4 separate regions of the Homo sapiens genome follow, and all the other regions are linked to region 1. The links are contacts of gene promoters, found by promoter capture Hi-C in blood cells and fetal thymus (Javierre and others, 2016). All regions are on one chromosome and are shown on one strand. The core of a region is centred on a gene start or on the middle of the fragment in contact, and the rest is flanking DNA. Distances in the headings are between cores, read along the strand shown.

Region 1 (2,700 bases), core at 29-2,528:
AGTACAGTGGTGCAATCTCAGCTCACTGAAGCCTAAACCTCCTGGGCTCAAGCAATCCTCCCACCTCAACCTCCCACTTAGCCACAGGCATGTGCCACCACACCTGGCTAAATTTTGTATTTTTTGTAGAGATGAGTTTTTGCCATTTTGCCCAGGCTGGTCTCGAACTCCTGAGCTCAAGTGATCTGCCTGCCTTGGCCTTCCAAAGTGCTGCGATTACAGGGCATGCACCAGTGCATGCAGCCTAGTTTTTTCTTTTATGTATTAGTAATGCCAAACGTGTTCTCTATTTCTAACATGTACTATGGCTTTTTTGGCAACATAAGGTACAGAGCACAGGTTAGGTCATACACACACGCACACTCACACCATCATCACACACACACACACGCACACCATCATCATAATCACTTTCTGAACAACTTTTTAAACTTTCCAATGCTCAGTTTTCTCATTTGTAAAATGAGATTCTAAGAGGATCTACCTCAGAATTATTGTAAAATTGAAAGAGATAATGCAAGCAAAATGCTTTGTAACACATAATAGTCATTAGTATTAATGATAGTAGTTGGTACTTATAAGCTAAGTTTTTTTTCTCAACTTCTCTCCATTTATCAAACAGGATACAGCTCAAACCAACTTTTCTTTTTAATCTCAGCATCATCAGAAAATGTTTGAAGTTGGAGAAAAGTCAGCCTCTTCAACATATCTTTGTTATTTAATACAAAAAGAAGAAATACAAAGATAAACACCAATTCTATCTAAAATTGAATGAAAAATAAAGCAAGTTATAGACTGCTGTTCAAGAAGCAAATGAAATCAGCATAAGCAATGAATTCAAAATCCTGAGAAGGATTTCATACAGAAAGAAGAAATTCAAAGATAAACACCAACTTTATCTAAAATTGAAGGAAAAATAAAGCAAGTTATAGACTGCCGTTCAAGAAGCAAATGAAATCAGCATAAGCAATGAATTCAAAATCCTGGGCTATAAATGAAATTGAGGCCGATTTCTGCAAATATATCTCATACTTACTCTATACCTGTCTATAATGCTACAACTCCTGCTTTGCCATATATGTAAAAAACAAGCCTAAGACAGGAAAAAGGAACTTACCCACGAAATTCTCTTTATCTTGCTTCTCAGGTGAAGACACCCTAGAATCCATCTCATTCTTGAGAAGCTTTTATACTTGGCAATTTTTCATGGGTTTGGAGCTAAGTGTGAAGAACAGGCAGCAACTCAGATGTGCTTGGGAGAGGGGAGAGGAGAAAGTATGAGAGAGTGAAAGACATTCCTTCTCTTTAGTGAACTCCCTAAGGGGTAGTTACCCTGGTGAGGGAAGCCTGATAACATAAACAAAAAGATTTCTTTTATGAGTTCAGACTGCCTTTGTTCACAGAAAAAACTTGAAAGAATATGACCATCTGGTGGTATTGCTTCCTGTAAAATATTGCTGTGTAATTTTCTATAGCATTTATATTTCATAAAACACTTCTATGCACCTTGTATAAATCTTGTGTGATCACTGATTACACAATGACCTGTTCAATACACAGGGCAAGTGTATCCATCCTTATGTTTCAGATGAGAAAATTTAACCCAACTCATTCTAACACTGCAGTGAGTGAGCTTTTGAAACTCAAATCTGATCATGTCTTCATCCTGCTTAAAATAATCAAAAAATTGCCAACTGTCAATATTGTAAAGACCAAACTCCTAAGTGTCCTACAAGACCCTGCTGGCCTGCCCCTTCCTCCCTTTCCAGCCTCACTCATGTGTCTCTCCGTGAAGCAGCTCCATTGGTCTCCTATCAGTGCCTCCAAAGCTTGATATGTCTTCTCGCCACCGGATCTTTGCACGTGTTATCATATGCATAATTTTTTGGCTTGTGTCTGTTTCTTCTTCTAGACCAAGAATTGACAAACTTTAGCTTGCCAGCTAAATTTAATTTACCACTTGTTTTTAAAACATAAAGTGTTATTGGAACACAGTATGTCCTTTTGTTGCTTTCTTTTTTTTTTTTTTTTTTTTGAGATAGGATTTCACTCTGTTGCCCAGGCTGGAGTGCAGTGGCACAATCACAGCTCACTGCAATCTCGACCTGCCAGGCTCAAGCAATCTTCCTACCTCAGCCTCTTCAACAGCTGGGACTCCAGGTGCACACCACCATACCTGGCTAATTTTTAATTTTTTTTTTTTTTAGAGATGGGGCCTCACTATATTGCCCAGGCTGGTCTCAAACTCTGGGCTCAAATGATCCTTCAGCCTTGGTCTCCCAAACTGCTGGGATTGTAGATATGAGCCACCATGCCCAGCTCTTTCATTTTTGTATTGTCTGTGCTCACTTTTGCACTGCACCCGTGGATTTGAGTAGTTGTGACACAGACCATACAAGCTGTAAGGCCTAAAATATTTACTGTTTGTCCCTTCACAAAAAAAGTTTGCTGACCCCTGCCTTGCACTATACATTTCCATGAGGAGAGTGACTTGGTCTAACATTTCCATTGCATCTGCAACAATTAGAACAACGTGGGCACATGATTGATGTTCAACAATACTTGCTGAATGAATGAATATATAAATCACAAATGAAAACAGCTCTCAAATGGCAAAGCTCTTTCTCAAATCCAGATCCTTAGGATCCTGTACTAGGATTCCTTCTTTCATCAGACCACATAGAACCACAGACAATTTTG
Region 2 (2,700 bases), core at 93-2,592, 650 kb after region 1:
ATATAATATAATTGAGACACAACAGGCGACTATAAAATGTAACACCATTCTACTTGGAAGTAACCTTTAGAAATGTGGCATTTCTTTCTGCTCCAAACCATAGATTCCTGCTGTTGAAAGGAACTTCAGTTTGATCTTCCACCAAATGGAGAAGTCTCTTCCTTAACATCTCTAGGTTTGTCAGCTGGCCCTTGCTTCACTTCCTCTAGTGAGAGTGAATGTATGACCACCCTCTTGTTGGACAGCTCTAAATGATAGAAAGTTCTTCTTTTCCAAAGTTTTCACAATTATGTTAATCTTTTGTCCATGAATTAGGTATCTCTCATTCTAAAACCATATATTTTCATTTTATCATACTGCTTCCAAATGGATATCTGCTATATGCCAAAAAGTGTGCAGGGTAATTGTTGAGAACAGAAAAATTAATGAGACCTGGTGCCCCTTTTTTTAAATTTTATTTTATTATTATTTTTTTAGATGGAGTCTCGCTCTGTCGCCAGCCTGGAGTGCAGTGGTGCGATCTCAGCTCACTGCAACCTCCGCCTCCCGGGTTCAAGCGATTCTTCTGCCTCAGCCCCCTGAGTAGCTGGGACTACAGGTGCGTGCCACCATGCCCAGCTAATTTTTATATTTTTAGTAGAGATGGGGTTTCACCATATTGGTCAGGATGGTCTCCATCTCTTGAATTTGTATTCTGCCCACCTCAGCCTCCCAAAGTGCTGGGATTATAGGCATGAGCCACCATGCCCAGCCTCTGGTGCCCCTTCTTAAGGGCACCTTATGTTTATAATCTACTCATAGAAGAGATAATACATGTGCATAATTATTTCTACCTCAGATGTCAAAGAGAACTTTTCAATTCTATGAATCTTTGTTCAGATGAGGTTAAAAAAAAATGATACCCCAGACGGAAGGAGGTTTAATGAAGGAGAAACCTGGTAGGTGGTGATACAGGGGTAACAGGGGCAGAACATTGCAGGCAGAAGAGAAGGCATGAGCATGGTGAGGAGGGCAAGCACTGGGCATGTTAAGAAACAGGATTAAAACTCTTGGAGTATAGTAGAAACTAAACATAGGGCAGCAGTGAGAGTGAAATATAGGCCGTGCTGGGGTTGGTTGAGGTCAAGTTATAGAGCACCTGGAAGCCAGAGAAAGCAGTGTGGATTCGATTCTCTACACTAATGTCCTCCAAAGTGGAGCATAAACTCCAGGATGTAGGTAAGAGAATGCATGGGGGTGTGAGAAGATGTCAAAGCTTCTGCTGAGCTTTAATTTTTAATCTTAAAGGTAAAAAAAGCAGTATGAAATGTACTCTATTGGTTGAATGCCTTCACTGTCTACATTTCAAGGTCACATGTTGCATTTCATGTACAGTAGAGGAGGCTTCCTGAGGGTACCGTGGAAGCTCCATAATGCTGAGAGGTTGAGGGGAAGCTTCACTTTTTGTTGCCTTTCATTGAGTTTTCAGGTTATGAGGGACCCAGTTAGTTGGCATTATAGATTATGTCATCTAATTTTAACTAAATTCGTCTTTACAAAATTACAGATAGATTTAAAGAGATTCCTTTAGAGAAGCCACAGATTGAAAATAATACTCAAGGTCGGGTGCGGTGGCTCACGTCTGTAATCCCAGCACTTTGGGAGGCTGAGACAGGCTGATCACAAGGTCAGGATTTCGAGACCAGCCTGACAAACATGGTGAAACCCCGTCTCTATTGAAAATAGAAAAATCAGCCGGGTGTAGTGGCGCGCACCTGTAATCCTAGCGACTCAGGAGGCTGAGGCAGAAGAATGGCTTGAGCCTGGGAGGCGGAGGTTGCAGTGAGCCAAGATCACACCATTACACTCCAGCCTGGTCCAGCCTGGGCCACAGAGTGAGACTCCATCTCAAAAAAAAAAAAAAAAAAAAAAAAAAAAAGAAAAGAAAAGAAAATAATACTCATAATACAATTACAAATAAAATATGGTACAGCTGACCTTCCTTTGATTCCAAGTACAAGATATTCAACACCCACATTACAAGAAAAAAACAGTGCTAATCGGATGAGGTCTGACAAGAAATACTATTCTAAAAGTGACAATGAAATATGGCTATAGATGCAATTTTATTTAGGTGAACCTTCTTATAAGTAGTATTCAGTAATATATATTGTGACTTTGTGAAATGTTGAGACGTTTCTTTCTCTGTTTTTTGCCATGTTAGTGTTCAACTTGAAACTAGAATAGCTACTTTCCGTTGCTGTATCACAAAGTATTAAACAAAGGCTTTTAAAAACATACATACAACAAAGCATATACATAGGTTTAAATACGAATAGATATATAAAAATTATATGACTATAAAATATTTAATACATATATTATGTGCACATTATAATATTAATGATAAAAATTTAGAAAGCCAAAAAGTTTTTTGAAACATTAATAAGTAAAAAAAAATCATTGAAAATATTTTTATTTTCACTGTATCTCAACCATTAAAATTTTTAGGCCTGTTTAAGAATGTACCTGAAATGCTATGTTTTCAGCTTCATTTAAAATAGAAGAGACCAGGTGCGGTGGCTCACACCTGTAATCCCAGCACTTTGGCAGATGAATAGCTTGAGCCTAGGAGTTTGAGACCATCTTGGGCATATATTTTTAATCAAATATATATTGAATAAGCAAGGCAACACCACAGATAACTTATCGCTACCAAAA
Region 3 (2,700 bases), core at 78-2,577, 580 kb after region 1:
AGAAGTGAGCCATCACTTTAAATTTTAAAATCTTTACATCTTTAGTAGAGACAGGGTCTCACTATGTTGGCCAGGTTGGTCTCAAACTCCTGGGCTCAAGCATCTTCCAGCCTTGCTGTCCCAAAGTGCTGAGATTACAGGCATAAGCCACCACGCCTGGCTAATTTATGTAATTTTTAAATATCCAGAAGGATTCATTAAAAACATGGCAAGAAAAGAGGATGTGGGAGTAAAATAATAGAGTAATATATAATAGAATAATAATATAAAATAAAATGATAATCTTATATAATACAATATATAATGTATATATTAGAATGATATATAGAATGATAATCAAAGAACTAAGTAAGAAGATTGCCATGCAATTACCATTTGCAGCAACAATGATTTAATCATGATTATAGCTCTGGTAGATATAAAATAGTTGTACTTTAAGTATTAACACTATCAACGGTCAGTATGGGGCAACAGTGTGTGCATGTGAGTGCGTGTGAGTGAATGTGTGTGTGTGCATGGGCATGCCACGTGTGTGTTTTTCTCCTAAATATTTAAGGCAAAAGCCTAAAGCAAATGAGGCTATTTCTTGAAGATGAATGTTCAAAGTAAGAAGAACCCTGTAATTTCTTTTACCCATGGATAACATTCTTTATCTCCCCATCCAGTCAGATTCAGTAAGCGAGAATCCTTAATTTCCATTAATCTAACCACTACTAGATTGAAAGTGTGAAAAACAACAATAAACTAACCACTTCATGTAGTTCAGATTTTAGGCAAGCTTATTCTTTTTAGGAAATGCTGAAAGATGCCTCAAACCACAAATCAGGCTTTATTTCAATAAATGTTTGTGACCACATATTGATAATGATAGGAGGCAGCCAAATGCCTAGACAGATAGGGCAGGTCCCTGGTGAAACCCCACCTCCAAGCCAAAGACAGTTTAAAGCCTGAAAGCCAAGCTACAAGTTAAATCCTCCGACCAGATTGAGAACTTGTCTTCCTGTTCGATGCGCTTTCCTCTTATTGATCCCCACCCTTCACCTATTTTACATATCCCTACCCTTTCCTAATTGGTCTTCTACACCGTCATATCCAACTTTGAGTGGTGTCTTTGCCTCAACCTTTTGCCTATAAAGACCCCAGACTCAGTCAGTAGAGGAGGAGACGACCTGACTTCAGGGAGGTGACAGCCTGACATCAGGGAAGATGACCTGCCCTTCTCTTCCCCTCTCCAGCTGAGAACTGTTTTCATCACTCAATAAAACTACCCACCTTCACCATCCTTCAACTATCTGTGTGACCTCATTCTTCCTGGATGCCGGACAAGAGCTCGGGACCCACTGATTGCGGGTATCCAGTAAGGCTGTCACACCGGCCCTTTGCCCTTGACGGCGGAGGGCAGCCACCCCACACAACAAGGCAAGAGGCCAACTGAGCTGCTAACACACCGCTGTCCGTGGACAGTGGAATTTAAGGAGCACTGTAACATCCTCTCTGGGGCTTTGGGGTCATGGGCACCCTCACAGGGGCGCCACCACATTCCCCTCAAGGTGACATGCCTGGTCTGGCCACGGGCCCTGCATGGAGCTTGCTTCTGTGTCAGCACCCAGAGTGGCTGGCCGGATCCTACGCTCGCTTGCTCATGTGCTGCCTCCTGCAAGGGGTTGAGTGTGACGAGCCAAGTAGAGGGGGCTCCCCTGCCGTGAGTTGGTGAAGGGGCTGAGAAAAATCCTGCATCAATATGTCCAAGGTTATAAATGTGACAATTAAATCAGGGGCAAAGGACATGAACTGGCCAAGGATACTGTATCACAGGACAAGAATCTCCTAGAATTGTACTTGTGTCCTACATAAGTAGCAATCAGATAGCAACGTAGTAAGCTTTCATAAAAATAAAGACACCTAATATTGCATACAATCAAATATAAAATAAAGCATTTAAGATAGAAAAATCTAAAGAGTTAGTCATTTATGGCTCAGAGCCGTGGTAGTATATTTTTTAAACTCTGTGTGTGTGTGTGTGTGTGTGTGTGTGTGTGTGTGTGTGTGACAGTCCCCAGTGAGAATCAGTCTGAGACCTCTTTCCAGAAACATATACACGTACACAAATGCAGGGCCCAGACATAGATCTTCTATGAATATATGTATAAAGCCATAATTCAGAGGTTCCAGTCCGATTCTCAATAAAGGGTATTATACAGTACATCCATCTCCTATTACTCAAAAACCTCTCTTTAAGAAGTAAAAGCTTTATCCCTAATTGTTACAGCTTTTGAAAAGGAAAACACACCACAGTCCAATTTTCTACGCAAAGTAGGCTTGGCCACCTATCTTCCTTCTGCTCATAACTAAAATGTGTTGGCGGTTCTGTGTCTCCTCCACTCTTGCTGCCTGCCTCTCCTGTCCTCTATTTCCTTTAATCGTCACCTTCCACTTTAAGACTCAGCTGTTGCACAAATAGCCAGATCTTAACCTTCTGAGTTTGCATACCCAAGCCATCAAAAACTGGTAGAAAAAGCCATCTTTCTCCTAAGTGGAAGGATTCTGGATTTGTGAAATACCAGTCAATGACCATTAGCTTCTCCTCCAAGTCAGCCAGTCACATGGTCTTTGGGTCACAAGGCTGAGGGCAAGGGGATCAGAATTCATAGGAAAGTAATGAATAATGTTATTGAGGTTAAAGGTGAGATACGCAATCTA
Region 4 (2,700 bases), core at 147-2,646, 630 kb after region 1:
AAGGCCACACCTCAAGGAACTAGAGAAGCAAGAACAAACCAAACCCAAACCCAGCAGAAGCAAAGAGATAACAAAGATCAGAGCAGAACTAAATGAAATTGAAACAGCAAATAAATAAATTAAATAAATAAATAAATAAATAAATAAATAAATGAAATTAAAAGCTGGTTCTTTGAAAAGATTAAAAAAAGATAGACTATTAGTGATATTAACCAAGAAAAGAAGAGACAAGATACAAGTGAGCTCAATTAGGAATAAAACGGGAGATATTACAACTGATACCACAGAAATAACAAAAGATCATTCAAGGTTACTATAAACACCTTTATCTACACAAACTAGAAAATCTAAAGGAGATGCATAAATTCCTGGAAATATACAACCCTCCTTGATTAAATCAGAAAGAAATAGAAAGTCTGAACAGACCAATCATAAGTAGCAAGACTAAAACAGTAATTTAAAAATTGTGGACAAAAAAAAAATCTGGATTCACAGATGAGTTCTATTCAAAAAATTGGTACCAACCTTACTGAAACTATTCCAAAAGATAGAGAAAGAGGGAATCATCTGTAAATCATTCTATGAAGCCAATATCACCCTAATAACAAGACCAGGAAGGGACATAACCAAAAAAGAAAACTACAGACCAATATCCCTGATGAACACAGATGCAAAAATCCTCAACAGAATACTAGTTAACTGAATTCAACAGCATATCAAAAAGATAATACACCATGATCAAGTGGGTGTCATTCCAGGGATGCAGGGATGGTTTGACACATGGAAGACCACAAATGTGATACACCACATAAACAGAATTGAAAACAAAAAACTTATGATCATCTCAATAGATGCAGAAAAAGCACTGGACAAAAGCCAGCATCATTTTGTGATCAGCAAAATCAGCATAGAAGGGACCTGCCTCAAGGTAATAAAAGCGATCTATGACACAACCACAGCCAACATTATACTAAGTGGGGAAAAGTTGAAAGCATTCCCTCTGAGAACTGGAACGAGACAAGGATGCTCACTTTCACCACTGCTATTCAACATTGTACTGGAAGCCCTAGCCAGAGCAATCAGACAAGGGAAATAAATCAGAACATCCAAATTGGTAAGGAGGAAGTCAAACTGTCGCTGTTGGCTGGTGATACCATTGTATACCTAGAAAACCCTAAAGACTCTTCCGAAAAGTTCCTAAATCTGATAAATGAATTTAGTAATGTTTCAGGATGCAAAATCAATGTACACAAATCAGTAGCACTGCTACACACCAGCAATGACCAAGCTGAGAATCAAATCAAGAACTCAACCCTTTTGCAACAGCTGCCAAAAAAATGAAATACTTAGGAATATAGCTAACCAAGGAGGTGACAGATCTCTACAATGAAAACTGCAAAACGCTGCTGAAAGAAATCAGAGATGGCACAAACAAATGGAAACACATCCTATGCTCATAGATGGGTAGGATCAGTATTGTGAAAATGACCATACTGCCAAAAGCAATCTACAAATTCAATACAATTCCCATCAAAATGCCATCATGTAAGAGACAAGATGAGTAATCTTCCTTCCATTCATTCATTCAACAAATATTTTAAACATCTGACACTTATCACACACTGCCCTAGGCACTTAGGATACATCATTGAACAAAAGAGACCAAAAGCCCTTCTGTCCAAGAGCTTATATTTCTAGAGAGAAACTACGTTAAATTCAAATAAACATTTTTTGTTCACCATAAAGGGTAAAAATATGGGCCACAGGCTGAGAAAAGATATATAACCAACAAGAATTTGTATCCAGAATACATAAATAATGTGTACAAATAAACTAAAAGAAAAAGAAAAGAAAACAAAACAAAACCTCATGGGCAAAAGAATAAGCAGTTCCCAGAAGTAGAAAGCCAAATGCCAGTAGACATGAAAAGATGGGTATTTCATTAGTAATTAAGGAAGTACTAGTTATAATATCAAAGAAATACCATTTTATAACTATGAAACTCTCAAAAATGAGAAAGCCTGACAATATCAATCATTGGAGATAGTGTGGTACAATGAGGATTCTTAATTGTTTAGTTAGAATAAATTGGTGCCATACTTTGCATAATAGTTTTTACAATAGCTAGTAAACTTGAAGATGGGTGTGTTATTTCCCCTAGCAACTCCACTCCCAGACATAGACCTCACAAAAATGAACGTATATAAAGAAGATATACATAATTGTTAGTAAAAACAAAATTGAAAACAACTAAATGTCCAACAAGATAACAAATAAAGGTTTGATGCTTTCAAAAAATTCTAATAGAAGTGATTCTACTAGGAATGACTGACTCTATAATATAAGACTGTTGGATTTACTGGATCCATATTATCCTGGCCTATCACTTTGAGAGAACAGTAATGAATGCTATTAGAAAAATATTGAAGTGGGAAAGAATAAAATCAAAGTTCTAATATTTATTCCCAGACTTCATCATGAAGTAATAAATTTCTCTCTGCCAAGGAAAATCCTTATCCTTTAAGGCTCAGTTCAAGAATTACTTTGCGAGTCCTTCTTCCTTGGTTCTCCCCTGCCTACTGAAAGTATACTCCTATAACCTCTGTATTTGAGTAACACTTTTCACTGTTTCCTTTGTTTTTTTATGTTGGGGGTGGAGGGGGCATAAATATTAGAACTATACATTTATATTTTTACTGC

The links. The method cuts DNA at HindIII sites, captures the fragments that hold promoters and counts their contacts. A CHiCAGO score of 5 or more calls a contact.
Region 2: a fragment that was not itself captured here is called in contact with the fragment with the promoter of STOML3 in region 1 in 1 of 17 cell types (total CD4 T cells); the score reaches 6.5 in total CD4 T cells.
Region 3: a fragment that was not itself captured here is called in contact with the fragment with the promoter of STOML3 in region 1 in 1 of 17 cell types (non-activated CD4 T cells); the score reaches 5.8 in non-activated CD4 T cells.
Region 4: a fragment that was not itself captured here is called in contact with the fragment with the promoter of STOML3 in region 1 in 4 of 17 cell types (non-activated CD4 T cells, total CD4 T cells, activated CD4 T cells and 1 more); the score reaches 6.2 in non-activated CD4 T cells.

The regions. Positions count from the first base shown.
Region 1 is chr13:38,989,553-38,992,252 of GRCh38, forward strand. STOML3 (stomatin like 3) reads right to left here and starts at 1,279. Exons shown (of 7, transcript NM_145286.3): 1 at 1,118-1,279. The coding sequence starts at 1,169. The HindIII fragment of the contact is 645 bases long and covers 1,183-1,827 here.
Region 2 is chr13:39,641,646-39,644,345 of GRCh38, forward strand. No RefSeq gene overlaps it. Among named protein-coding and RNA genes, the nearest start is that of COG6, 13 kb to the right of the region's middle. The HindIII fragment of the contact is 179 bases long and covers 1,254-1,432 here.
Region 3 is chr13:39,570,282-39,572,981 of GRCh38, forward strand. The region is part of intron 2 of LHFPL6 (LHFPL tetraspan subfamily member 6); the gene reads right to left. Among named protein-coding and RNA genes, the nearest start is that of LHFPL6, 32 kb to the right of the region's middle. RefSeq lists enhancers at 892-1,459, 1,460-2,026. The HindIII fragment of the contact is 1,103 bases long and covers 777-1,879 here.
Region 4 is chr13:39,622,038-39,624,737 of GRCh38, forward strand. No RefSeq gene overlaps it. Among named protein-coding and RNA genes, the nearest start is that of LHFPL6, 20 kb to the left of the region's middle. The HindIII fragment of the contact is 8,597 bases long and covers 1-2,700 here.